Linked DNA regions of Homo sapiens: all the other regions are linked to region 3. Evidence: promoter capture Hi-C in human tissues and cell types (Jung and others, 2019). All regions are on one chromosome and are shown on one strand. The core of a region is centred on a gene start or on the middle of the fragment in contact, and the rest is flanking DNA. Distances in the headings are between cores, read along the strand shown.

Evidence for each region. The method cuts DNA at HindIII sites, captures the fragments that hold promoters and counts their contacts. A contact is called where the count stands out against the background at its distance.
Region 1: a fragment that was not itself captured here is called in contact with the fragment with the promoter of PRRX1 in region 3 in 5 of the 25 tissues and cell types used here (H1 embryonic stem cells, liver, mesendoderm cells and 2 more).
Region 2: a fragment that was not itself captured here is called in contact with the fragment with the promoter of PRRX1 in region 3 in 2 of the 25 tissues and cell types used here (aorta and neural progenitor cells).
Region 4: a fragment that was not itself captured here is called in contact with the fragment with the promoter of PRRX1 in region 3 in 2 of the 25 tissues and cell types used here (liver and mesendoderm cells).
Region 5: a contact is called between a fragment that was not itself captured here and the fragment with the promoter of PRRX1 in region 3, in 3 of the 25 tissues and cell types used here (H1 embryonic stem cells, aorta and mesendoderm cells).
Region 6: a fragment that was not itself captured here is called in contact with the fragment with the promoter of PRRX1 in region 3 in 1 of the 25 tissues and cell types used here (H1 embryonic stem cells).
Region 7: a contact is called between a fragment that was not itself captured here and the fragment with the promoter of PRRX1 in region 3, in 2 of the 25 tissues and cell types used here (aorta and ovary).

What each region holds. Positions count from the first base shown.
Region 1 is chr1:170,494,289-170,498,397 of GRCh38, reverse strand. All of the region lies in intron 1 of GORAB-AS1 (GORAB antisense RNA 1), which reads left to right. Among named protein-coding and RNA genes, the nearest start is that of GORAB, 36 kb to the left of the region's middle. The HindIII fragment of the contact is 9,877 bases long and covers 1-4,109 here.
Region 2 is chr1:170,864,877-170,868,882 of GRCh38, reverse strand. No RefSeq gene overlaps it. Among named protein-coding and RNA genes, the nearest start is that of MROH9, 69 kb to the left of the region's middle. The HindIII fragment of the contact is 3,866 bases long and covers 585-4,006 here.
Region 3 is chr1:170,662,309-170,665,922 of GRCh38, reverse strand. PRRX1 (paired related homeobox 1) reads right to left here and starts at 1,792. Exons shown (of 4, transcript NM_022716.4): 1 at 1,464-1,792. The coding sequence starts at 1,704. RefSeq lists enhancers at 299-1,159, 2,360-2,887. The HindIII fragment of the contact is 17,405 bases long and covers 1-3,614 here.
Region 4 is chr1:170,435,299-170,439,443 of GRCh38, reverse strand. No RefSeq gene overlaps it. Among named protein-coding and RNA genes, the nearest start is that of GORAB, 95 kb to the left of the region's middle. The HindIII fragment of the contact is 7,035 bases long and covers 1-4,145 here.
Region 5 is chr1:170,456,452-170,460,176 of GRCh38, reverse strand. No RefSeq gene overlaps it. Among named protein-coding and RNA genes, the nearest start is that of GORAB, 74 kb to the left of the region's middle. The HindIII fragment of the contact is 6,792 bases long and covers 1-3,725 here.
Region 6 is chr1:170,474,458-170,478,422 of GRCh38, reverse strand. The region is part of intron 1 of GORAB-AS1 (GORAB antisense RNA 1); the gene reads left to right. Among named protein-coding and RNA genes, the nearest start is that of GORAB, 56 kb to the left of the region's middle. The HindIII fragment of the contact is 4,040 bases long and covers 1-3,508 here.
Region 7 is chr1:170,808,642-170,812,568 of GRCh38, reverse strand. All of the region lies in intron 1 of LOC124904454 (a long non-coding RNA gene), which reads left to right. Among named protein-coding and RNA genes, the nearest start is that of MROH9, 120 kb to the left of the region's middle. The HindIII fragment of the contact is 4,513 bases long and covers 198-3,927 here.

The sequences.
Region 1 (4,109 bases), core at 247-2,746, 170 kb after region 3:
CGAGAAATAATGATTTTTTTCTAAAAGCATCTGCTTTATCCTTTTTCCTGACATCACTTAATTATGTAGGTCAGTGCTTTTGGCATCTTCTTTAAGACTTCACTGCTATGGTTCCCATTTTTAGGGTCTCTTTTTCAAAACTATATTTGGCCCCTTTGTACATGTTAGAGTTCTATGTATTAGCAAACCCTTTGGACTCTCCTCAGTAGCAGCAACACTTGCTGTCTAAGGACTCATTGTAAAGATTTAATGCCACTTCCACATCATCTTCCATGACCTCATTAAGACTATCCAGTTGTATAAACCATGGAGTGTTGGGAATTTGAGGCCTATCAAGTTCAAGACTAAGGAAATCATGTCCTTTCTCAAATTAGACTCTTTTCCACACACTATCCATATCACTTCCCACCATCATTTTTCAATATTTTTCTTAACCTGGTGGCAGGGGATTGTACCAAAATCCCTGACACATTCCACCCTCAGCCTCAGTATCCTTGATGAGCTATAAAAGTGGGTGTTACATCCAGTGCATCCTGGATACACATTTACTTTCTGCTTTATCAGCTGCTGTATCATTTTGTGTTGCATGGAAGAAATTTAAAATGTAATGTTTTCTTCCAAGGACATGTAGTATTTGAATACCATATTCAAATACTATATTCAAATTTGAATACTATAATACAGCAAATTTGATTTATTTTTAGCTTGTTTGTATTGTATGGTTATCTGTGTGATGAACAAGCTGGAGTTTTAATTTTAAATTCTCTGTTGAGTTTCTGCTAAGGAAGAGAGTAAGATGGTCCATGACTGCCTTAAAGCCAGACACAGTTTTTTCACATGCAATAAATGTGAAGGAAGTTATCTGTTTCCATGAGAGACTGATTCCATCTGCATTAAGAGCAAATTGTCGAAGACATTCACCAATTTCCATCATGAACTTGAGAAGTCCAGGAAATTTCTCTACTGTTGCCTAGTCTGTATTTACTCCCTATTCTAAAAGTTTGGTGCAGGCTAGTCACTGCAGCATTTAAGGTAGCTAAATTGACCATGTCTGGAATTTAAAATTCCTTTAGCTACACTCTTATATTTACATAAACTGAGTACCTTATCTATTAATGGTCAGAGACAGCAAGTGTAGTAGAAAAGGCATTGAGGCAATTTATTTAGTCATGGCAATGGGACGTATATGGTGGTGATAGTTGCTCTCTCTCTCTTTCTATATGTGTGTGTGTGTGTGCATGTAGGGTGAGGGGGTGTAGTTGAAGGGGTACTCACATAGCAAGCAAGCAAAATCTGATAAAAATACCACTGAAATTATTGCATATCAACTTAGGTGTGTCCCCAGCCTAATTGGAACATATTATGCCCCAATGAGGAAATCTGGCAGCATTGAGTTCTTGGACTCCTTCCTCTGAGAAACTCTTTTGGTTGAGTCTGGTTGATTCCACCTGACAATCACCTTCACAACTCATGTCAGGAGGCACCTCTTTGGTAAAACCTTTCATGACATTTCCAAACTCCAGGAAGAACTAACAGCTTGCATCTCTGTGCTTAGTGTGTTTTATATACCGGTGATAAATACTATAAAGGATGTTTCCAAATCTATCTCTCCAGCTAGATTGTGTGTCATTGAGGGTAGCAATTCTGTTTATATTTTTTAATAGAGGCAGTGTAGCCAGTTAGGAAGAACCTGATCCTCAAAGCCAAACCCAATTTCAAATTAATTTCACTGCGGTGTGTTGTGTTGCCTTGAATAAAGTACTTAAAGCTTAGCCTCAGTTACCTCATATGTGAAATGTGTCTAGTAATGCCTTTTTTTTTTTTTAATGGAATCTTGCTCTGTCACCCAGGCTAGAGTGCAGTGGCACAATCTCGGCTCACTGTAACCTCCGCCTCCTGGGTTCAAGCGATTCTCCTGCCTCAGCCTCCCAGGTAGCTTGGATTACAGGCATGTGCCACCATACCTGGCTATTTTTGTATTTTTAGTAGAGGTGGGGTTTCACCGTGTTGGGCAGTCTGGTCTCGAACTCCTGACCTCAGGTTATCCGCCCGCCTTGGCCTCCCGAAGTACTGGAATTACAGGTCTGAGCCACTGCGCCTGGCCAGTAATGCCTAATTCTATAGAACTTTTTGAATAAGTACAAAAAGGTCCTCACATATTTCATTTCCTTGTATCTTAATTAAACACTATTGCCTACCAGAAACATAGAAACATTCAATATTCTGATGTTCTTGGACCTAGACTGTCCGGGTAACTTAAAGTCTGTTCTCCCTCTTCCAAAAGAAGTTACCGCCTTCTCAGTAAGGATGGCCTGACAGGGGCCTTGGTGATAGCCAGACTTCATCACTGAGTATTTTCAGAGAGACCACAGAGTCAACTGTTCAGGAAACTATAAGAAAGGATGCCATCTCTATGTAGAAAGCTAACTCAGATGATCTCATTCATTCAACAGATAGTTTTGGAGTACTTACTGTATGCCTGTCAACTGTGCCAGATGCTATGAAGATTACAAACTAGTGAATGACAAAGATTTTAAAGTTAAATTAATACAAAATTACAACTAAATAAAGTATTATGAAGGAAAGAAATAAGAGCTGAGATCCTGAGTTCTTTTCCAAATCTAACCTATATGATTCAATGTCTACATTTTCATGAAAGTAGAACATTGACCCACAAATTGCAAATGGAAATTCCAACATCCTTTGTAAATGTGTTCAACTCTACTTATTTAATCTTTTGTTCTATTCTTCCTGATAGCCCATCTAGTCAAAGTCTTCCTCTGGTGGCACAATCAGCATCCCGGCGTCTACGCAGATGTTGTTTCTTTTACCTGGAGCTTACTCCATTCCACAACCTAAAATGTTGTTCATCACCCAGAGCCTAGTTCCCCCACTTGTAAAATGAGCTGGTGAGACTAAATGGTCTTTAAAATTTCTTAGTTCTAGAATACTTTGGTTCATTTAACCTTGCCAGTGAAGGAAGAGGGAAGATTTTGTTCCCTTCATTTTTACTTCTAAATTGCATTTTCTGTGCTTGGTCATCATGATGTATTGTTTTTAGCTTTTCCTCGTATCAGAACTCCAAACAGAAGAAGCTGGAATGTAGGGCATGCATTACATGAAAAGTGAAATGTTTTGAAAGGGCTTTGAAGTGTTGAATAGGAATATTGTATTAAGAACATTCCACTAAATGGAAGAAACCTGGAAACTGGACAAGCTGTGGATGTGCAGATGGTATTACTAACCATCAGTCAAATAGAGAACACAGGCTATTTGTATAGATCGATATGTCATGTGTCTCTATACATTGGGAGGTACCAAGAAGTTGTCAGCAGTTGTTATTTCTGTATGTATTGCCTCCAAGGAGAATAATCAAATTGCCTGTGTTATACAGCCTAGAAATTTCAGTTTAGTCTGTACCAATATGAATGAATCTATTTAAGATGTCTTGTATGAGAAAGGATGCTTTTATAAATGCAAACGGACATAAATGGGTTTGTTTGTGGATGGGTCAGTGAGGGGAGGTGGGAGCAGAGAGGAAGATCCCCTAGCTTAATAGTTCTTTAAAAAATCTTCTTTATTCTAATATTAGACAGTCTACGAACTATAATTATCCAGTGTGCTCCATATCACCCCACGACATTTTACGATTAGAATGTGGGTGAATTGCTCTGCCTCAGCCAACACTAATATTAAAGAACAGCAGAGAGTCCTTTAGGTAAGTCTAAGCATGAATCAGTCAGCTATTGGAGTATTTCAGAGGGGTGTTATTTCTCAGAGATAAGGGAACAAAGAGGTCTTAATATCCGGCTCAGCCAAGGCAGGAAATTGCCTACTTCCTGAGCCAGTGTGGTAGAGGCTGTGGGATGGGAGCCAGATATATTGGAGGGAGGAGGCAAGTAAGTGCTGGAGACCTCAGGATTTTATTGTAGGGCACATGGACTTTGTATGAGAATGTCAAAAACTCATTTTGTCTTTAGCACAGGAAGATGCTTGGCAAAGAGTTAATGACACTAAAGAATTCTTACAAATGTTATGGATGGGTGTTAATTTTCACAGATAGGCATTCATTGTCAGATGTTTATGCTCTCCATTCCTGAAACTCCTCC
Region 2 (4,006 bases), core at 1,268-3,767, 200 kb before region 3:
ATAACTACAAACCACTGCTCAAGGAAATCTGAGAGAACGCAAGCGAATGGAAAAACATTCCATGCTCATGGATAGGAAGAATCAATATCGTAAAAATGGCCATACTGCCCAAAGCAATTTACAGATTCAATGCTATTCGCATTAAACTACCATTGACATTCTTCATAGAATTAGAAAAAAACCATTGTAAAATTCACATGGAACCCAAAAAGAGCTCGCATAGCCAAGACAATCCTAAGCAAAAGGAACAAAGCTGGAGGCAATCTCATTTTTTAAATTATTTTTGGCATGTTTCATGAACCTGATGTGCACTCCTTATACTAACGGCAGCAGAAACTTTTATTCCTTCTTTCATGTATTTGCTATTTATTATTCTGTCACAGGTTATTGCACATACATGCAGTAATCTGCAATGATTTAGCACCTTAGACATGTTTGTTACTAGAAAAATTAATGTAGGTAAGGTGATAAGTGGCACAACAGTCCTTTTAGAAGAGAGTTAGAGGGGAAAAAAGTAATTGGTATTCTGGGGGTGCAGTATTAGGTTGAGTCTTTGGTGGCTTAAGTTTTATTTCTTTCTCCCATGCTGGGATTCAATTTCTGGGATTCCATGCAGAAATTGAATTCCTTCCATTTCTGTGATGCTGAAGTGAACATAATTGTATTTCCCTGGTACCTTGTTAGCAAAAATTTGGATTGGCTGGTTGTGTTCATTCCAGTACACTGCCAGCGTGGGCCCAGTGTGAACTTCCATGCAATTCCACTCTGTGTAGAAGGCCACTGTCACACATGACACACATAAGATATTTCACACATAAGGAAAATCTATCCCATAACCTTCTTTCTAATCATTCAAAACAAACCTTCCCAGCACCACTGTTCCTGCCCTGCCATCCATCTCTCCTCCACTGCTTGTTGTTAGCCAGCAGTGGAAGGGAGCAGTGGATTTGAAGAAGTCTTAATGGTAGCAACTCTGGTCACCGTCTTGATGACTTACTCATGTATTAGCTGCCTAATACTTGATTTCTGAAAATCTCCTTTCCTCTTAAGTAAAATAGGTATAATAATAGTGCCCACCTTGTGAGTATTAAGTTGGATAATACAGTGCTAAGCATAGAGCATATCACACACTTGTGCTTAATAAACTTTAGCAATTACTTTGTTATTCTATCATAATTTCACCATCCAATAGAAAGCAGAGACTGGAGGCAAAGACTTGGGACAAAAAAAAGCCTAAAAATAGATACGAACCAGAGAAAGCCGAGATAACACCACGGCAGGAGTTACAGACTATTCTCTCTTCACATTTATTGTCAAATCTGTCCTTGAAATGCCTACAGATCTTGGGTTTATGAACAAAGCTTCAGTTATTCATAATTCACAATCAAAATGTAGGCATTAAGACGAGGATAGAAAGGGATAGATAGTCATCTTCTCATCTGCCTTTGTATACATGGACAGAGGAGAAGCAGGATACTGAGATAGGTAAAAGGGGTGAGGTGTATCTCTCCACTTGCCCACCAAGACTACTCTTTACAGCATTGCTGATGGCCAAGAAAAAGGCTGACATTTTTCTTTCCTTCAACTTGGGAAACTAACAGATAATAGCCTATCATATGAGTGGAAAAGATTGGATGTAAATTTGATCTTCAAGAGGTGGGGGGTGGATAACTTTGGGGGAAAAAATGCAGTTTTTACATAACAGGTCTTTGTGTTAACAGAAAGTATACTAGATAAAATGCACAGCCTATTTGTTAGAGAAGTGTGCTGATTCCTGATGGGAACAGATGTAGGTGTCATGTAATACAATAAACATTTGGCATTGTCAACCGAGGGCACATGGTCTTGACCTCCAAGGTAAGCTTGGTCTTAGGTGAGCTTCTTCTCCATTAAGGGGAAAATGTGATTGAGTCCATACACATTCCTTTCCATTTCTTATTAAGGGTCCAAATAGGAGCTAATACAGTCCTTGGAACTATATTAGGATAATAAATAATCAGTGTTTATGATGCCACCTTTGTGTCCCAGCAACAGCCACAGCACAATGAGCTTGCACTTCTGCCTTCCCAGACGTGCTCTCCCCAGTTCTACAGGGAGACAGACAATATGTGGCAGGCTCACAAGAATTCTCACATTGGAGAATGAGAATTCTGCAAGTTAATGAAAGTTTTAATAAAGTTCATGGAAGTTTTAACTTGCAAATTTTTAACTTGCTTAAAAATTAAGCCTCTTAATATTCTAGAAACCAGTAGGTGAAAATCCCAGTGGTCCTTTTCTTAAGCGCTGTATTACATAATTAACAGGTATATGGAATGTTGGCGTATAGGTGCAAGGAAAATATGGTTTAAGCAATCACCTCTTGGGTCAACCTGCTGCAAGTAATCTAAGGCAAACGATTTGGAAAAATGATGCCTTTGACTGCAATTGAAGCATATGAAAATTGTTGACTGGAAACTAAAGGTTAGTGAGTACAAGAGCCTCAGACAGCAGAGTAAGATGCCCAGGCAGAGGAGGCAGGCCTGGCATCCATGGCAGCTCCTGGAACCATCTGCAGAAATGAAACTTGGAGGAAGGTGTGCCATTTGCCACCAGCAGTGTTTCCCATCCACCTGGCTATAAACCCTGGCCATCAACCTGAAATCTGACCGGAATCAGTAAGGGATATTTCATAGCCACAAAAGAGTTGGACTCTGCAAAATAAGGGTGTTTACTAAAATGGTATTTAGATTGGTGGAGCCATTAATAATTTCAGATGTTGGAATTTGTTCCAAAGGGAAGCAGTGTAGCTGACATCAGATGAAATACACAGATAAGGCTAGTGAGAAGGGGGTAGTGAGAAGGGTACTTCTGGAAACCTAAGCCTAGCATATGAATTTCTCTTGGAGGATGAGCAGGGCTCAACCTTTCTTTTCTGTTGTTTAGGTTGTTTGAAGTTGTAGTGCTCTGTCAGGAAAAGTCAAGTCTGGGAGGATGACAGCCTGTTGATTTCAGGGAAGGAGAAACAAGGAACTACCTTGCCTATCATGTGCTCAACATGTGCTTGTCAGTTTGTGTCCATTATTTCCTGTAATGATCACACCAATCTCATGCAGGTGGTATTAATATTAACCTATTTTATAGCTGCATAAACTGAGGTTTAAAAATAGAAGTAACTTGCCCAAGATCACCCTCCTATTTCACGGCAGAGCAGAGCTTTGAACTAACTCATGTCTGCCTGACTTCAAAGTCTATTGGCTTCACAACACTATTTTGACTTCCCTCTGTGATCTTTTCCTAAGTGTTTACAATGGGCAAAGCAGTGTCTTAGATCTTATGTCTATCTCACAGAATGTCCTCAACTCCCAGAGGGTAAAATAGAGGCTCAAAAGGGTGACATATCTATACTCAAAAAACTGGTACATATTATCGTCAGTGGTAGAATATTCTGTCTTTCTTGAGCCCTAACCTTCCTGAATTGAGAGTTGAATAAGAAGAAAGGGGAGTAATTAGCCCTCTTGCCCTGGGCCTGTACAATCACAGTAAACATTTGCACAGCTCTTTATAGTTAGCAAATCATTTTCACATACAATTATTTCATCTAAGCCTTGATTAACGCCTGAAGAAAGTAGTAATATTACTTTCACTTTCCAGATGAAAAGGAGGTTTGTAAAGGTTAAGTGACTCTCTCTCTAACACTTAGAAAGCCATGAAGGGCTGCATCTTTGGTGTTTTGACTATAGATCTCATTACCATTCCTTCAACATTCATTGTGTACTGTCTACATGTCAGCATTGTGATGAGGGCTGGGAGCAGAGAGGTGAATAAGGCACAGTTCTGGCTTTTCAGGAGCTCATAGTATAACAGGGGATGCAGCTGAACAAACCAGATAATTCCAGTAGAAGGTAGTAAGCCTTTACTCTTAGTTAACACAGCCATGGTATTCTGTCAGGGAACTTGGGAATGAGGCCCACTTGGCAGAACTATTAAGGTACTCATAGTAGGACTGACTCCTTGTTATCTAGACTTT
Region 3 (3,614 bases), core at 543-3,042:
CTCAGAGTTGGCCACCTTTCTCTGGTGTCCAGGCCAGACTTCCTCATTCAGTTCCTGTAGCAGTCTGCTAATGCATTGGGTGGATCGGCCCTAGGCCGCTTTTGGCTAAAAACACCCAGGGGCGCCCAGGCCGGAACTAAGGAAGCAGGGTGAAGACCAGGCGTCTTGAGCACACCAGAGGCTCTCTCTGCGGCTTGCTGTAGCGTGGCCCGCGGGGCCACCACTGTGCCCGGACCCTGTTTCCAATTGTTTCTATGTGCAGTTTGATTTGTATGTCTATTCTTTGAGAGTCTGAAATAGGCAACGTTTTGTGAAAATCATAGAATGCTGGAGGGCCCCCCGGTTCCACGATTTCCAAATTTGAAGACAAAAATGGTAACCAGCAACTACTGACATAGAAAGCAACCAGCCTCATTTGAGAACTTACAGCTAAGTTCAGACTCTTGCAACCTCGAGGAGAAGAGGGAGTATCTGTACATATCTGGCCACATGTCACCTGGGATGAACAGGGTGACCGGTCTGTTACAGACTTGGGGGCATGGGGATACAATTGCAGTCTCTTTTTAAGGCACTAGCGAAGCGAGATTTTCATGGGTCGCGAGGTTGGTCGGTGAGGATGGGGAAGGGAAACTGGACTTTTCTGGGCGTTTAAGAGCCAATAGGGAGAGCTCCTCTAAGGTGACACTGGCCTCCGCACTGAAGCTCGCGCCTCCCGGATGCAGCTCGCCTGTGCGGGATCATGCGGGGCTGGATTTCAGGTTTCACCCTTAAAGGACATTCCCTTTGCTTGGCCCGAGTTTTCCCAAGCCAGCCGGGCTTTTGACTCTGCCAGTCTCAAACCCATTTGCGGTAGAGGCAACAGCAGGGGGCAGAGAGCAGCTCCAGCGTCTGGGGCCGGGCGTTCTCTCGGGGCCTCCCGGTCGCGCCCGGCCTTACGGTGCCCGCGTGGAGAGTGCAGCCTGAGCAGCGCCAAGTCCTGCTCCCTGTGCCTGGTGCCCTCCCTCAAGCCGTCATACGCTGCCCGAGAGAAGCCCTTCCAACCCGACTCAGCATCTTTAACCTGCTGCTTTCCCAAACAGCGCTGGCTCTCTGAGTTTGCACCCCGCTAAGACCTTTTCCCAGCCCAGCCCCGCCGCCCCGCGTGCGGGATGAACCGAGCCGGTGCCTAGCCGAAGTAAAGAGAGTCCGCCGCGGACAGAGTCCCTGCCTGAGACCGCAGGGCCTCGGAGTGTCCCCGGACCTTGGAGCCTCTCTCCAGCGTCCTCCTTGGCTATGCCCTCGGCCGAGACCCGCTTTTCTCATCTGGTTTCCCCTGTGACTGGCCCTTCCTTTGAAGTCTGCCATCACCTCTCCTGGTCCCAGGACCTTGTCTTTCTGGCCGCGGACGGGCTCTAGCTGCCCTACACGGGTCCCCGCCCTCTGTCCCGGGCACACACCCCCGTGGGCATGCGCCCCTCACTCACTGTCCTGCTGCGGGGTGTCGCTGCCGCTGGTGAGTCCCGGCGACTCCAGCAGGCTCCGGCCAGCCTCGCCCACGTTCTCATCCGCCTGTGCCGCCACCATGTCCCCGGCTTCCTCCAGGTCTAGCAGGTGACTGACGGAGAAGTTCTTTTTCGCCTGCAGGGTGTCGAGGTTGCCCGGGCTGTCCAAGCGGCCGCCCAGCGCCGGTTGCCGCTCCAGAACGTGCCCGTAGCTGGAGGTCATGGTCTCCCCCACCGATCCCACCCACCCCCCTCTTCCCGCTCGAATCAACACCAAACGCTGTGGGCGCGAGGGGGGAGAGGAGCCGAGTGGGGAAGAAAGAGGGGGGTAGTGGAGAGAGAGAGAGAGAGAGGGAGGAAGAGGGAGGGAAGGAGAGGAAGGCCAAAAAAAAAAAATTGGAAAAGAGGGTGGGGGACCCCCTTCTGTAGAGCAGAGCGTTGTGCACCAGCCGCCTTCCGCAGCATTGGTTGATTTCCTGAGGCCAAGTCCGGCGCGGTCCAAAGAGATAATCCACAGTAAAATACAATATTAAAAAGTCACCCTATGTTCAAGTCAGGAGAAAAAAATCCCTTCCAACTCTCCAAAAGTGTCCACACGCACAGACTAAAAATAATAACAAGGGGGAGAGAGGAAAGCGGAGGCCAGCAGGGCGGGGGAGTTAGGCAAACAGAAGAAGAGAGAAGAAGGGGTGGGAGAGAAGAATCAAAGTGAATGGTTTTTTTAAAGGTTAAAAAAGTTATTCCCAGGCAAGAGTTCAAGCACCAACAGAAGAAGGCTTGTTCCAGCTTTAAAACATCTTCAAGAAAACGTGTTCCCCCCTCTCTGCACTCCTGTGGATTCTCAGGAGTGACTAAAGTTTCAGGAGGAGAGGGTGATGTCTTGCAGATGTATTAGAGAGCAGGATTCTCACTTTACTTTTTGTAAAGAGTAAAAAAAAAAATTAAGAATTAAAAAAAAAAGGCTTCAAGAGTCCGACGGAGGGTGCTGGTGGGTTCCCCCCTTTCCCCTTCTCTCTCTCCCCCTCTTCTTGCTGGGCTCCTTTTTCCTTCTCAGTTGGATCAAGAAGCTCTCTGGCACTTCAAAAGGCACAAACTGGCATGCAGAGGAGGCTTTGTAGGGAATACAAGAAAATTGGAGACCCCTGGGAGGGCAGATCTCGACTTAATAGGAGCCTGTAATTACGTGGCAAAGCCTTTGTGCTGTGCCTGACGTTTCACAGACCCCCTTTCTCCATCACAATCTCCTTCTTCCTCCTTTCCCTGGGACCAAAAAACAGTCTGATTAAGAAAACCCCCTTTGCCAACATCAGAGTTAGAGAGAAAGGGAGAGGGAGGGAACAAGAGAGAGGGAGGGAGAGAGGGAGGGAGGGAGGGAGGAAGGGAGAGAGAGAGAGAGAGAAAGAGAGAAGAGAAATGAGAGAGGGAAGAGAGCAAGAGAGCCCCTTTGGATTTCTAAAGGTCTAATTATCATTCCCCTGCAATAATATCACGGGGAGAAAAGACAAACTGAAACTCACAGTCACTTCAAACGTGCTGATTATTTTGCTTCGGCATTAACTCCTCCAGATTTGTTTAAGATCCTGTTGGAAAATCTCATTTGCATGTTTTGATAACAGCTGTGGGGAAATTTGGAAAAAATCCACCACCATCACAATCAAATTTTCTTCTCCTTCTGCCTTCCCCCAAACCGCCCCCCCCCAAAAAAAAATTTTCTGCTGTTCTAACAGTTTGGGGCGGAGTACAGGGAGAAAGTAAGCATATTAAGGCTATTTTTGGTTCCGTAGAGGGAGCCTATTAAATAATGTAATAAAAATAACAAAAGGGATGATAATAGGAAGTTCTCTCACGCCTCTCGCAAGGACTAAAGGCAGGTTGGGGAGATCCAGAGGGCACCGAGTTTATTTGAGGCTTTCCCCGCCATTAGGCATACCAGGACTAGGGCAATGAGAAAAGTACGTGTTTATTAAACTGGAAGAAAGGACTCCAAATATATATTATAATCTTTCTCCCTACCCCCGCCAATTTTGTAACTTCTACGGTAAGGCCAAAGTTGCTTCCCCAGGCGAGGACGCTAAACCCAGAGGGTCCCGCTGCCCAGATTCCTTGAAGCAGGCAGGAGCACTCCCAGAGGCA
Region 4 (4,145 bases), core at 156-2,655, 230 kb after region 3:
TGTGTAATTGCCACGTACTATTATCATTAAACTTTTCCAGTAGTTGTTTCCCTAGCTTGGTTGGTTTCTTTACATGCATGCACTGATCAGTACTCTAATGAATACTCAAGGGGGACACTTTGCTAGTCCTTGGACTTCTTCCTTTGTGCAGCTATGTACTTCCTGGTTCTCTGTCTTGTGAACTGTAGCTACGTTGGTCTCCCTGGACTCTTAGCTTTGTCTCTTCAACTCAGGGAGTCCCCTCAACTCTACCTGGATTTTCTCTTCATGTGCTATGGACTGGCAATCATCACAAGGCAGAAATCTGAGGTAATTGTAGGGCTCACCTTACTCATTTTCTGTATCTGTGGGACCCTTTTTCTCTGTTCCTTAATATCCAGTATCTTAAAAAATATTGTTTCATATATTTTGACTGGTTATATTGGTTTTTCCATAGAAAATGGTAAATATTGTCCTTATTATTCTGCCTAGGTAGGAAGTGCAAGTGTTGTTACACATTATATTTAAAAGCAATATAGCAGATGCTGAGAGGGTTTGAACAACTTATAATGACTCCAAATATTTGTACTACTCTAGCGTATACACCAGATTAGACATCATCCCTTAAACACAGGCTTACTAGAGCAATGAAGCAAATGATTCTTATTCACCAGCCTCACCCATGAAACAGATTGAATAGAGAAGGAAAATTTCTTAAAGAGGTGCTAAGAAGAATTAAAGAAACACCGCTCCCCACCAAAAAAGTTCAGGTCAATATTCCTTCATTTTTTGTAGTTTCTACAGAATTACAGAATGTTCATGACTTGATACCATGGAGTTGACCTGCATCTAAATTATTATAAAAGGAGTAACTTTCACTTTATCATTTCAAGGAACAGATAGCAAAAATTCTGCATGTTGTCTTTTTTACTTTCTATTGAGGCTTGTGGGTCCTTAATGTATTTGAAAGAGCTTATTTAAACCTCTCTGGTTGTCTCCTTGTGAGGGGTAAGTAGTCCTGACTGTATCCTAACCAGCTTAAGTGTTTACCACAGTAAGCAGGGGTTTTCAAAGCTACTTCACCATCCCAATCCATTTCCCAGTATAAGTGAGTTCTAGAGGGAAGCTCATACACTAGATGATGTCCTTGCTCTGGGATCCGTAGAGTGATTTGCGGTTCCTTACAGGAGAAGTTTCAGTGAAGAGTTCTGTCGCCCTTAGGCATACATTTTAGGGGTTGGACTTCCTATTTAAGGGCAATTAAATAAGGGGCCTTACTGTTTTAATTGGATTTTAGGTAAGCTATTCCTGTGGACAGTTTGTCAGTGTTTGCTATGGCCAAAGCTTTTCATTTACATTTGATATTCTTGTAATCTTGTGCTAGTCCCTCACCCCTAAAATAATTATCTTTTAAGTTCTCTGCCTTCCCAGATGGCAAAGTCATTAGCAAAGCTCTTGAGACTAGCTCGGTCATTTTGAGCAACAACAATTTTGAATCACGTACTTTAAATTGGGTCTATAGAGAGGACCTTGATTTTTTAGGCCTGGGGTGCTCTTTGATCACTTTTTCTGCTTCGGTTGGTTCATCATGTTTTCTTTCATTCATCTTCCACCAACTCAAGGATTTGTCTAGTGTTCAGTACAGAGGGGTAGGATTAAAAATGGCATAGTCCAGCAGAGTGGAACTGAATTAGAGGGGGCTGGGAGAACCTGATTAGTATGCTAAGTTGTGAAATGCTGTCTACTTACAAAGGTATAATTTGTATAACAAAATGGTCATTAATGTCCTTGCCACCTAAACAGTTTTGAGATGGCCTGTTAGAGAATAAGAGAATGTGTGAAGGATAAAGGAAAAGGGTTGTTGTCCCAAAGTGCACTGTAGGAGAGAATCACCTGATCCCATGAGGAGGTAGTGAAAAAAGGCAAGAAACTTTCTATTTGAGTGTGCCCTGGCGAGTTTTATCCATTACCTAATTATGTTTCCTCTACCCTAAAATATGAAGAATAATTTTTATTCCACTTCCAAAGTGTCTTCTCTCTCAAAATTATCCTCAGTCAAATAACTGCATTTGCTAAAACCAACTGGCATTTGTAGTACGCTGGCAAGAGAGTCACATATATTTATCTTTATTTTTAATGAAATTTTCATGATTTCTCTTTTAAATTCTATGTGAAAACATGCACGTTAGTTTCCTATTGCCATTGTAACAAATTACCACAAACACAATGAAGATTTATGATCGTTCTGGAAGCCAGAAGTTTGAAATAAATTTTAATTGGGTTAAAGTCAAGGTGCCAGCAGGATTGGTTCTTTCTGGAGACTCTAGGGGAGAATTCATTTCTTGGTCTCTTCCACCTTCTAGAGGCCATTTACATCCTTGGGTTCATGGCCATGTTCCTGTGTCTTCAAAGCCAGCTGCATAGTATCTTCAAATCCCTTTCTCCCTATCTTTCTTCATCTGTTATCATATCACCTTCGGTCTCCCTCATCTCCTGCCTCCCTCTTAAAAGAATCCCTATGATTACACTGGGCCCACTTGGATAATCCAGCATAACATCTTTATCTCAAGATATTTAATTTAATCACACCTGCAAAGTCTCTTTTGCCATATAAGATAATATTCACAGGCACCAGAGATTAGGATGAAGGCATCTTGGGGGGCCATGGTTCAGCTTACCACACACGGTATTTGGAGAAATGGGAAATATACTCAGGAGTGTGCTGGCTCAATATGTACCTTCAGGTAGCACTCTAGCCTTTTCCCACATGACCTCATTCTTTTACCTTATAGCAAATGCCTCACAGAATCAATTGTATTCCCTCTCTAAAAATAGAGCTCGGAGTACCATTTGTTGCTTGACATTGTTTACTGTTTACTTCATTTGCATGTAGTTTTGCTACTTATTAAAATGCTTACATTTTTTCTGAGATTCTCATTCATTTACTGACTTTTTTACAGTATTGAACATCTTTTATAATCCAAATACTACATTAGGCAATAGATATGCAAAAATATATAAAACATGGCCCTAACCTTTAGTAGGCTTATGGTCTAGAGGAAGAAGTAGTTTTAGGAAACTTCATTTTGCAAATGAGAAAACTGAGGCTCAGAGGGTAGTTAGGTGGCTTACCCAAGGTTTTTCATTCAGCAAATAGAAAACCTGGATCCAACTACAGATTTGATTTCAGAGAAATGACTCATTTAGTAAAGTAACTATTCGGAATATTGCTGCATAAAAGATAGGAAGCATCTCAGCTCCGAGTGACTTCTGATGAGAAATTTGAATGTTTGTCAAACACTTTGTGAATCTGATTCCGACTTCTCAGAATCCTATTTACTCTTACACACAATTCTAATAATTCATTTTCTCATTCAATGGCCCACTGGAAGCAGAAAGTAAGACTAGGTATGTGTTGAGGGTTGGGGAAGGAGGTAGGTGGAGAGAAGAGGGGCAGACAAAGGGAGAGCAGTGGCAGAATAGAGAAACCTGAAAGCTTAACAGTGAGTGAGAAAAAATGCTGCTGAAAACCAATAGAAGCAAGGATAGCATTTTCAGAGTTTTTATAGGTAATACCTCACCTACTGCCAAAAAATTAGAAACAACTCTATTAACTCGGTATTCTCCAGTGACATTTCTGGCTTAAAACATAGTAATCTGATACTCATTGATTCTACCGCTTTTTCATTCCCCCTAACCTTTTCTGTCTTTACTTCCCTCTTAAACCAGCTTTAGTTACATCATTAAATTTTAATAATTCCCTGGCAAACATCCTCAATACCCTTGTCTATCAACTACTTTCCTATATTTTCCCAGATTTAACTTAGAAAGTTGAACATAACTGTCTCGTCCCTGCCTGCCCCCCATACAACTGAATATGGCTGGAGAAAAACACATAGCCATATTGACTGGTCTCATTTCATATTTATATTCTTGTTCATTGACTTGTTTCCTATTTCACTGAGAAAACAGATGTAATCTGAATTGAAGCCCCAAAGTCTGGCAATTATATATTTATACACTATCTGCCACTGTACTATAAATCCAACCTGCTCTCATATTGGTTTGGTTATATTGGTTTCTCTGGCTTTACCTTCTTGGTCTTTGTGGATTTTTCCTCATTTTTCCAATCTTTAAATATTGGAGTGCCCTAAGGGCTTGGTCCT
Region 5 (3,725 bases), core at 483-2,982, 210 kb after region 3:
ACCCATGTATGTTTGAAATGTCAGACCATGTGCAAAACTTTAAGTTACTTTTCTGCTTCCTAGGCTTTGCCTACCAGACCTTTATTTCAGCAATTATTGAAGCAATTGCATTTAAGGTTACAACATGAATTTCATGGGAACTCCCTGTTCGATATAAATGGAAACATGTTCCTTGGAATAAAATATCTTTATGAGTGAAGTTTAATATATTTTGAATCAGGCCCAAAGAGATCTTTTGCTGTGAGTGAAGAATAAAGTAAAAATTCCATTAATAAAATTTTATGGCTGTATAGGTGGAGAAAAATCTTTTCCACATAAAAATATTTTCATGTTTTTCTCAAATTAAAAAAATGGAAAGTTATTGATAGTCACTTAAAACTAAGCCTAATTATTAGAATATAGATAGCCAAATATTTCTGGAGACAATAGGGCAAAAATATTTTAGAGTTTTAAAATGTCTGTAACTTTAACCAAGAAATTATGCTTTTAGAAGTCTACTCAGGAAATACAACTTGAAATGCTGGATACATTTTAAAAATCATTTTGATGACATTGGAGAGGTATAAGCCAGTCAAAAATTGAGAGTTCAAGATTGTCAAGATGACAAAAGAACCAGGAGAGGAGCCTGAAAATTGGTGCTACCTTTCCTATCCAGGTCAACAAAATTGAGAAACTGAGGGCTGCTTTTGGCAGTTCCATGGGACCGAGGGGACAAAAATTAGATATTAGAATTTGTGAATGTGTCAGGGACCTGGTAAACAACCAGGTTTTCAGTTGGGATCCCTAAAGGGATACAAATTGGAATTAATAATGAACAGAATAAGTCCTTCCAGTGACTGAAACAAACTGTCATATCAGTTTAATCCCTTGTTATATTAAAGCAATCTTCCTAGGCTAATAATACACTGAAAACAAAATAAATACTCTATGGAGGGAGATAACATCATCAAAAGCATAAAGGTATTGCTAAAATATTTCATATACAATGTTAGCATTTAATAAAATATTACCACACCTTCTAGGAGGCAATGGCAAATGCTAAAAACTTAAGAGAAAAAAAAACAGGAAAAAATAAAATAAAACAGACCTATAGGAGAGACATTTATTAGAGTTAGCAGACATGGACCTTTAAATAACTTTGATAAATATTCTAACTAAAAGGACAACATGAAGAGAATTGTATAGAACTGGAATCTAGAAAAACAATGAAATTGGAATTCTAGAGTAGAAATGCAATAACTGAATTTAAAAGTCAATTTAAAAATCAGTGTGTGGGTTTAAGAGCCAATTAGACACAGCCAAAAATAGAATTAGTAAATTAGAAGATAAGTCAGTGAAAATATTCAGAAAAAAGTATAGAGAAACAAAGTAAAGGAAAGCACAGAGGATAAGAGACATATAGGAAATAATGAAAATATCTATCAAATGTGTAATCACAATTTTAGAAGAAGAAAAAGAGAGAGAATGGGGAAGAAGCAATATTGGAAGAGACAATGGCTGATAATTTTCCAAAACTGCTGAAAAACATCAACACATAGATTCAAGAAGAGTTATGAATTCCACATAGAAAACTATGAAGTAAACCACACCATAATAAAGGAACATCATAATAAAGCTCCTAAAAAACAAAGAGAGAGGGTGGCTGGCAAGATGGCTGAATAGGCACAGCTCCAGTCTGCAGCTCCCAGCGAGATCAATGCAGAAGGCGGGTGATTTCTGCATTTCCAATGGAGGCACCCAGCTTATCTCATTGGGACTGATTAGACAGTGGGTGCAGCCCATGGAGGGTTAGATGAAGCAGGGTGGGGTGTCACCTCACCCGGGAAGTGCAAGGGGTTGGAGAACTCCCTCCCCTAGCCAAGGGAGCCATGAGGGACTGTGTCATGAGGAACGATGCACTCTGGCCCAGATACTGTGCTTTTCCCATGCTCTTTGTTACCAGCAGACAGGAGATTCCCTTGGGTGCCTATGCCACCAGGGCTCTGGGTTTCAAGCACAAAACTGTGCAGCCGTTTGGGCAGACACCAAGCTAGCTGCAGGAGTTTTTTTTTTTTTTTTTTTTTTTTAATGCCCCAGTGGCGCCTGGAATAGCAGCTAGACAGAACTGTTCACTCTCCTGGAAAGGGGGCTGAAGCCAGGGAGATGGGTGGTCTAGCTCAGCATATCCCACCCCCATGGAGCCCAGAAATCTAAGATCCACTGGCTTGAAATTCTTGCTGCCAGCACAGCAGTCTGAAGTAGACCTGGGATGCTCAAGCTTGGTGGGGGGAGGGGCGTCGAACATTACTGAGGCTTGAGTAGGCGGTTTACCCCTCACAGTGTAAACAAAGCTGCCTGGAAGTTAGAACTGCAAACAACTTGAAATGCTGAGTAAATTTCAGCAGCTCGTCAAAGCTGCTGTAGCCAGACTGCCTCTCTAGATTCCTCCTCTCTGGGCAGAGCACCTCTGAAATAAAGGCAGTAGCCCCACTCAGGGGCTTATAGTTAAACTCCCATCTCCCTGGGACAGAGCACCTGGGGGAAGGGGTGGCTATGGGCACAGCTTCAGCAGACTTAAACATTCCTGCCTGCAAGCTCTAGAGAGAGAAGTGGATGTCTTAGCACAGTGCTCAAGCTCTGCTAAGAGATAGACTGCATCCTTAAGTGGGTCCCTGATCCCCATGCCTCCTGACTGGGAGACACCTACCAGCAGGGGTCAGCGGACACCTTATACAGGAGAGCTCTGGCTGGCATCTGGCAGGTACCCCTCTAGGATGAAGTTTCCAGAGGAAGGAACAGACAGCAGTCTTTGCTGTTCTGCAGCCTCTGCTGGTGATACCCAGGCAAACAGGGTATGGAGTGGACCTCCAGCAAACTCCAGCAGACCTGCAGCAGAGGCCTGACTGTTAGAAGGAAAACTAACACACAGAAAGGAATAGCATGAACATCAACAAAAAGGACGTCCAAAGAAAAACCCCATCCGAAGGTCACCAACATCAAAGACCAAAGCTAGATAAATCCACAAAGATGAAGAAAAACCAGTGTAAAAAGGTTGAAAATTCCAAAAACCAGAATGCCTCTTCTCCTCCAAAGGATCACAACTCCTCGCCAGCAAGAGAGCAAAGCTGGATGGAGAATGAGTTTGACGAACTGACAGAAGTAGGCTTCAGAAGGTGAGTAATAAGAAATTCCTCCAAGCTAAAGAAGCATGTTCTAACCAAATGCAAGGAAGCTAAGAACCTTGAAAAAAGGTTAGAGGAATTGTTAACCAGAATAACCAGTTTAGAGAAGAACATAAATGACTTGATGGAGCTGAAAACCTTAGCATGAGAACTTTGTGAAGCATACACAAGTATCAATAGCCAAATTGATCATGCAAAAGAAAGAATATCAGAGATTGAAGATCAACTTAATGAAATAAAGCATGAAGACAAGATTAGAGAAAAAAGAATGAAAAGGAATGAACAAAGCCTCCAAGAAATATGGGATTATGTAAAAAGACCAAACCTACGTATTATTGTTGTACCTGAAAGTGACTGAGAGAATGGAACCAAGTTGGAAAACACTCTTCAGGATATTATTCAGGAGAACTTCTTCAACCTAGCAAGACAGGCCAACATCCAAATTCAGGAAATACAAAGAACACCACTAAGATACTCCTTGAGAAGAGCAACCACAGGACACATCATCATCAGATTCACCAAGGTTGAAATGAAGGAAAAAAATGAGTGAGTTTCTTAATCCTG
Region 6 (3,965 bases), core at 239-2,738, 190 kb after region 3:
AAGTAGGGGCCGCATATAAATAACTTCTTCCTGTATCCTGTAACCTAAGCCAATATTGCTTTCTAGAAATCTTTCACAAGGAACTGATACAAGTGTGGACAAAGCTTTATGTGTAGAGGTGATGACTGGAATGTTATTTCTAAAAATGATAAACTGAAAATCTAAATACCAAACTATAAGACAAATTTTTATTAAAATAATAAAGGATCATAGGGATCATTAAGCTAGAAAATTTCTGCAAATAATTACTGATGGTATGCATCAAGTGCTTATAAATGGTACAGGTAGAGAAACAGGCATCAAATAATACATAGAAAAAATCTTGAATATGAATTAGAAATTTGATAAAATTAGGAGTAATTATAACAAAATTGGATGACAGATTTATAGACTTTTAAATAGATTTTTCTTTAAAATCAGCATCATTGGAATATAAATGACATACAATAAAATGCACATATATTAGGTGAACAATTAATAAGTATTGGCAAACATATAAACTCATATAACAATCACTTGAATTGATAAAGAATATTTTTATCACCCCCAAAATTTCCCTTATGCCCATTTGCTGTCAGCATCCCTTCCTTTACTCAGTGAAGTATCTACTGACCTTCTTTCTGTCACTATGTATGTCTTGCCTATTCTAGATGTCATATAATGCAATGTGTAACAGTATAATGGAATACACATACAGTATAACAGTATGTACTGTTTTGTTTTTAACTTTCTTAAGTCAACATAATATTGTTGAACCTTAGCCTTGCTGTTGCATATGTCAGCAGTTCATTTCTTTCTTTCTTTTTTTTTTTGTTCCTTTGGCTAAGTAGCATTCGTAGTTTGTTTAGCCTTTTATCTGTTAATGGAACTTTAGGTTTTTTCCAGGTTGGAACCATCATGAATAAAGCCGTTATGAGCATTTGTATACAGATTTTTTTTGTGAATATATGTTTTCCGTTTTCATGGGTAAATACCAAGAAATGAAATCACTGGGCCAAACGGTAAGCATACTTTAATTTGACACATATTGCTAAACTCTTTTCCAAAATGATGCATCTTTTACACTTCCATCATCAATGTATAAAAATTTCCCTTACTTTTTATTCATAACAACAATGAATACTGACAGTTTAAATACCTTTAAGCCATTCTAAATGCCTGTCTAGTAATATCTCATTGTGGGCTTGATTTTTGTATTTCCTTGATTACAGATTATATGGACCATCTTTCCCCCTATTTATTTACCATTTATACATTTTCTTTTGCAAGCAATTGGTCAAATCTTTTGCCCATTTTCAAAAAATTGGGTTGCTTCTTTTCTTATTATAGAGTTGCAAAAATTTTATATGTATATATTTTGGATACAAGCCTTTTATCAAATATATGTATTACAGATATCCCCCCACATCCCTGTCTATGGCTTGCATTTTAATTTCCTAATTTTCTCTTTTGGAGAGTTAAAAAAATTTTTTGATAAAGTCAAATGTATTGTTTTTTCCCTGTTATGTTTTAAAAAGTTTGTCTTCTTGGTCAGTCTAGCCAGATGTCTATATTTTATTGATCTTTTAAAAATAAGTATCTTTTAGATATTTGGTTTTTCTCTGATTTTTTTCTTCTCTATTCCATTGAGTTTTGCTCTTGCCTTTATTATTTTCTTTTTTTCTATTTTATGCTTAATAGTATAATTGATTTCTAGCTTCTTAGAATGAAAACTCAGATCACTGATATTACATATTCTTTTCTAATACAAGCATTAAAACTATAAATTTATCTTCAGGCAATCACTTAGCTGTATCCCATAAATTTTGATATGTTGTGTTTTCGTTTTCATACAATTTGAAATATTATCTTATTTGCCTTTAGATTTTTTTCTTTCATTCATGGGTTATTGAGAAGTATATTGTTTAATTTCTAAGAATATGGAGATTTTTCATATGTCTTTGTGTTATTAGTTTCTTATTTAAATTTGTTGAGGTCAGAGGGCATACTACATATGATTTGAATCCATTCAACTTATTTAGACTTGTTTTATGTCTCAGCATATGGTCTATCTTGGTAAATGTCCAATTTGCATGTGAAAAAAGTCTATCCTGCCATTGTTGGTATATGTCAATTAGGTGTCACATTGGTTGATAATGTTCAAGTTTTCTAGACTGATTTTCTGTCAACCTGTTTTATTACTAGGAGAGATGTGTTATTACATCCAACTATAATTGTGGGCTTTTCTATTTCTCCTGTCATTTTTATTAGTTTTTATTTTACGTATTTTTTAAGCTGTATTATAAAGTGCATACACATTTAGGATTGTTACATCTTTTCGATGAATTGGCTCTTTTGTCATTATGAAATGGCCTTGTTATTCCTGATAGTATTCCTTGTTCTGAACTACATTTTGCCTGATATTAATATAGCCATATAAGCTTTCTCTTTAGTGTTTCTGTGGTATCTTTTTCTATTCTTTCACTCTTAACCTCTGTATATTCTTATATTTAAGGTGTTTTTTTTTTTTTAGAAAACATAGAGTTGTGTTTTGCTTTTTTATCCAATGTGACAATCTCTGCCTTTTAATTGAGATGTTTAGGTCATCTAAACAGTGTAATTATCAATTGATAATTGATAATTATTGAGTGTAATTATCAATACAGTTAAGTTTAATCCTTTCATCATATTTGTTTACTATCCTAAATATTTCTTCATTTTTCCTGTTTATATATTTTTACCATTTTCATGGCTTTTTGGGTCTTAATTGAGTATATTTAAATATTCTATTTCCTTTTTTTTGCTTATTATCAATGTGGTCTTTTTTTGTAGTGATTACTCAAGTTTTATAATAAGCATCTTTAACTTCTTTAAGTCTGCCTTCAAATAATATACTACTTCATGTATAATGTAAGACTCTTACTACCATACAACTTTATTTGCATAAAATTATGTCATAATTGTGCTAATATTGTCATAGATTATATTTTTACACACATTAGCCTTCAATACATTGTTGTTACTGTTCTAAACAGATTTTAAAAAGTAAAGTAAATTACAGTTAAATAAAGATTTCTCATATTTATCCACATATAGCATTTTCAGGGCTTTTCATTTTTGTTATAAATCCAAGTTTCCATCTGATATTCCTTTGGTCCTAAAGAACTTCCAAACACATTTCTTTTAATTCATGTTTTCTAGTGACAAATTCTCTCAGCTTTTGTTTGTATTTAAATGCTTTTAGGTCATGTCCATGTTTGATGGATATTTTTTCTGTATATTAGCTTCTAGGTTGACACTTTTTATATCCAGCACTTTTAAGGCGCTGTTTCATTGTATTCTTGCTTTTTTATTTCTGAGAAGTCATTAATCATTCTTACATTTGTTTCTCTGAATTTAATGTGTCTCTTTATTTCTGGCTGCTTTTAATATTTTCTTTTTATTACAGATTTTCAGTAATTTGATAATGATAGGACTTCCTGTGGTTCTTTTTGTTTTTATTTTGCTTCTTGAATGCATGGGCATTTTTGATATATGGGTTATAGTTTTCATCAAATTGGGAAACTTCTGATTTTATGTATTCAAATAGTTTTTCTCCTGGGAATCCATTTACATGTATGTTAAACTATGTGATATTGTTCCACAGTCACTGAGTCTCATCTTTTTCTTTAGCTTTTTTTCTCTGTGTGCTATAGTTTGGATAGTTTCTCTTGCTATGTCTTCAAATTCATTGATCTTTTCTTCTGTAATGTCTAATTGGCTGCTATTCCAGTCTAGTGAAGTTCTGGACATGAACTTCAGTTTTAGAAGTTCAGTTTCACTCTTCTTTAGTTTAGATTTCTCTTGTTCTTATGTTCATGCTTTACTAACTTCATGATCCTATTTATTATAGCTGCTTGAATATCCTTGTATACTAATTCTACCATCTCTATCATTGCTGCATCTGTTTCTATCAATTCATTTTTATTTTGGTTATGGTCATAATT
Region 7 (3,927 bases), core at 1,205-3,704, 150 kb before region 3:
TCTTCTGGCTTGTAGAGTTTCTGCCGAGCAATCTGCTGTTAGTCTGATGGGCTTCCCTTTGTGGGTAACCCAACCTTTCTCTCTGGCTGCCCTTAATGTTTTTTCCTTCATTTCAATCTTGGTGAATCTGACTATTATGTGTCTTGGGGTTGCTCTTCTCGAGGAGTATCTTTGTGGTGTTCTCTGTATTTGCTGAATTTGAATACTGGCCTGCCTTGCTAGGTTGGGGAAGTTTTCCTGGATAATATCCTGAAGAGTGATTTCCAACTTGGTTCCATGCTCCCCGTCACTTTCAGGTGCACCAATCAAATGTAGATTTGGTGTTTTCACATAGTCTCATATTTCTTGGATGCTTTGTTTGTTCTTTTTACTTTTTTTCTCTAATCTTGTCTTATCACTTTATTTCATTAATTTGATCTTCAATCACTGATACCCTTTCTTCCACTTGATGTAATCAGCTATTGAAGCTTGTGCATGCCTCACGACGTTCTCACGCCATGGTTTTCAGCTCCATCAGGTCATTTAAGGTCTTCTCTACACTGTTTATTCTAGTTTGCCATTTGTCTAACCTTTTTTCAAGGTTTTTAGCTTCCTTGTGATGGGTTAGAACATGCTCCTTTAGCTCAGAGAAGTTTGTTATTACTGACCTTCTAAAGCCTACTTCTGTCAACTTGTCAAAGTCATTCTCCATCCAGCTTTGTTCCGTTGCTGGCAAGGAGCTGCGATCCTTTGAAGGAGAAGAGGCACTCTGTTTTTTAGAATTTTCAGCTTTTCTGCTCTGGTTTATCTACTTTTGGTCTTTGATGTTGGTGACCTACAGATGGGGTTTTGGTGTAGATGTCCTTTTTCTTGATGTTGATGCTATTCCTTTCTGCTTGTTAGTTTTCCTTCTAACAGTCAGGTCCCTCAGCTGCAGGTCTGTTAGAGTTTGCTGGAGGTCCACTCCGGACACTGTTTGCCTGGGTATCACCAGCAGAGGCTGCAGAACAGCAAATATTGCAGAACAGCAAATATTGCTGCCTGATCCTTCCTCTGGTATCTTTGTCCCAGAGGGGCACCGCCCTGTATGAGGTGTCTGTTGGCCCCTACTGGGAGGTATCTCCCAGTTAGGCTACATGGGGGTCAGGGACCCAGTTGAGGAGGCAGTCTGTCTGTTCTCAGAGCTCAAATGCCATACTGGGGAACCAGTGCTCTCTTCAGAGCTGTCAGACAGGGACGTTTAAGTCTGCAGAAGTTGTCTGCTGGCTTTTGTTCAGCTATGCCCTGCCCACAGAGGTGCAGTCTGTAGAGGCAGTAGGCCTTGCTGAGCTGCGGTGGGCTCCACCCACCCAGTTCATGATTTCCGGCCTCTTTGTTTACACTGTGAGCTACTCAAGCCTTAGCAATGGTGGACACCCCTCCCCCTGCCAGGCTGCAGCCTTGCAGTTCAATCTCAGACTGCTGTGCTAGCAGTGAGTAAGGCTCCGTGGGCATGGGACCCGCCGAGCCAGGCACGGAAGAGAATCTCCTGGTCTACCAGTTGTTAAGACCTTGGGAAAAGTGCAGTATTTGGGTGGGAGTGTCCCGTTTTTCCAGGTACAGTCTGTCATGGCTTCCTTTGGCTAGGAAAGGGAAATCTCCCGACCCCTTGTGCTTCCCAGGTGAGGCGATGCCCCGCCCTGCTTTGGCTCACCCTCCATGGGCTGCACCCACTGTCCAACCAGTCCCAATGAGATGAACCAGGTACCTCAGTTGGAAATGCAGAAATCACCCATCTTCTGCATGGATCATGCTGGGAGCTGCAGACGAGAGCTATTCCTATTCAGCCATCTTAGAACGGACATCCTGTCTTTCTACTTTTTAAGAAGATACTTGAGAGATGGCTTAAATAACCCAGAAAGATTGTTTTCTCTTAGGATTTGTAAGTAGTCCAGTATGGTAGGAGCTATCAGAAGGCCCAGGGTGGCAGTGAACAGATGATGACTTGACAGCAGCAGAGCTGAGAGGTGGCTCATCATGGCTAAACATTATTGTGGTTTTCAGTCAATTTTCAGGCACATGGTTGGCACTGGGAACCAACATGATGGAGCAGGAGTCTGGCAGATGAATAGGACCCAGGAGCAAGGAATCCTGGCCCCAGATGATACTCTGATCCTAGAAAGCCAGACTGACTTGCAGTCAATATTCAGCCCTAGCCACTGGGTTGGGTTAGGGGGAGGAACCCCACTGACTGGAGAAGGAAAAGGCAGAAGCTGAAGAAAAGACCTGGAAAAACTACAGAACTTCTCAGAAGGGGGCCCAGAATGAAACCTCCAGTGTAGACTGGGACAGTGATAAATCTCCTGGTGATTATAAGGGCTAGGAGGGTATGATGAAGAGTGAGGTGCTATTATAGACTCAGGATCAAAAACAAGAACCTCAGGCTCCCAAAGCCGCAACTTCTCTAGGAATTAACTGCAGGAAGTAGCTGGGAACCCAGAACAAATGGTGAGTACTCCTTTGGCCAACCCTGGAACTGACTGAGTCAAGTTAATTCAAGAATAGAACCTGCAGCCATGGAAAGGCACAGAAGGCAAGGCTGGAAAGAAGCCTCAGGAGCAGGCAGAAATGGATCCCTTTACTAGTAGGAGAAATATACCAAGGGTGAAGGAAGGGACTTCCTTTGGTGGTCAAAGGATGCTTCTATTTCTCCTTCTGAGTAGACATTTAGCTTTGGGATAATGCTGATTTTGGAGTCTGATACAGTACTTCCTTTCGTCCTTTCAGCAGAAGACCCTGGGCAATGGATTATCTGAGCTTCAACTTTAAAAACTTAATAGAATAGGATTTACATACTTCCTAACAAGGGCATTGCAAATATTATAAAGTGTGAGATCTCCAAAAAATTCCAGTAGGATAAACATTTCATTTTTGCAAAAGCTGATGAAATTTGATAACAGGGTCATAGGAAATAAGAAATTCCTGGGTAAACTTAGGATAATAAAACATCCATTAGTGGCCATGCCTGTCATTCCATTATTACCTTCTTAAAACCCCAGAAGCACTGGGAATGGTCTCTTTGAGACTGGGCTGGACAGGATGATCCCATACATGAAGAAACTGCTAACATGGTGGTAGTGGGTGGCTCTCCACATAATCTCACCTTGCCTTGCCCAGCTCAGGCGTTGTCTTGCTAAGGACCCCATTATACTCTGCCCACCCTCTCAGGCTGATGTCTGCCCCACATCCAGCCCCCGCTTTTTGTCTTTCCTTCCTGCGTGGCCCTTCTAGAAATGGCCTGCCTCCCAGACTCCCTGCCCCCTGGCCCAGCACCATCCCAGCCACCACATTGACCTCATCCCAGAGATTCCTTAAGTCCAGGATCTTCCTTTGTTCTTTGACAGTACCTAATAGTACTTGGCACTATTTAAAGGTATTTTAAATATTTAAAATATTAAAAAGATACTTAAAACCCTTATTATATTCAACGCAATTCTGGTTTCAGTCTTCTTTTTCCTAGGAGTGAATACTAGTAGGATTTCACAAATTATCCTGTCTTTAATATATTGAAAAAGTTTCTGAGATATACCTAGGGTCAGAAGTCTGAGAGCCATGGGGAGCAAGGCAAAAACCAATTATGCTACCTCTGTTGTGTGGGCAAGTCAGTGAGATTAATAAAGCCTCCCATGCTGTATTCCGTGGGTTGTTATAAGGATCAGACTGAAATAAGAAAAACAAATGAACAAAATTATTTTGCAAGCTTTATTAAATTATAACATAAACCTAAATATCATCTAGAAATGTGTTTCTGTGGAACATCTGTTTTGCAAGGGGCTGGATAAGTGAGATATCACTGTGTTTGAGTCTGTTTTTTAAATAGTTTGGGACTTATAAGAAAACCCTCTGAGCTTCTCTAGCAAGGCTGAGCCTGGCCACAAGCCACTCCTGCTGCAAACTGGAATACTAAAA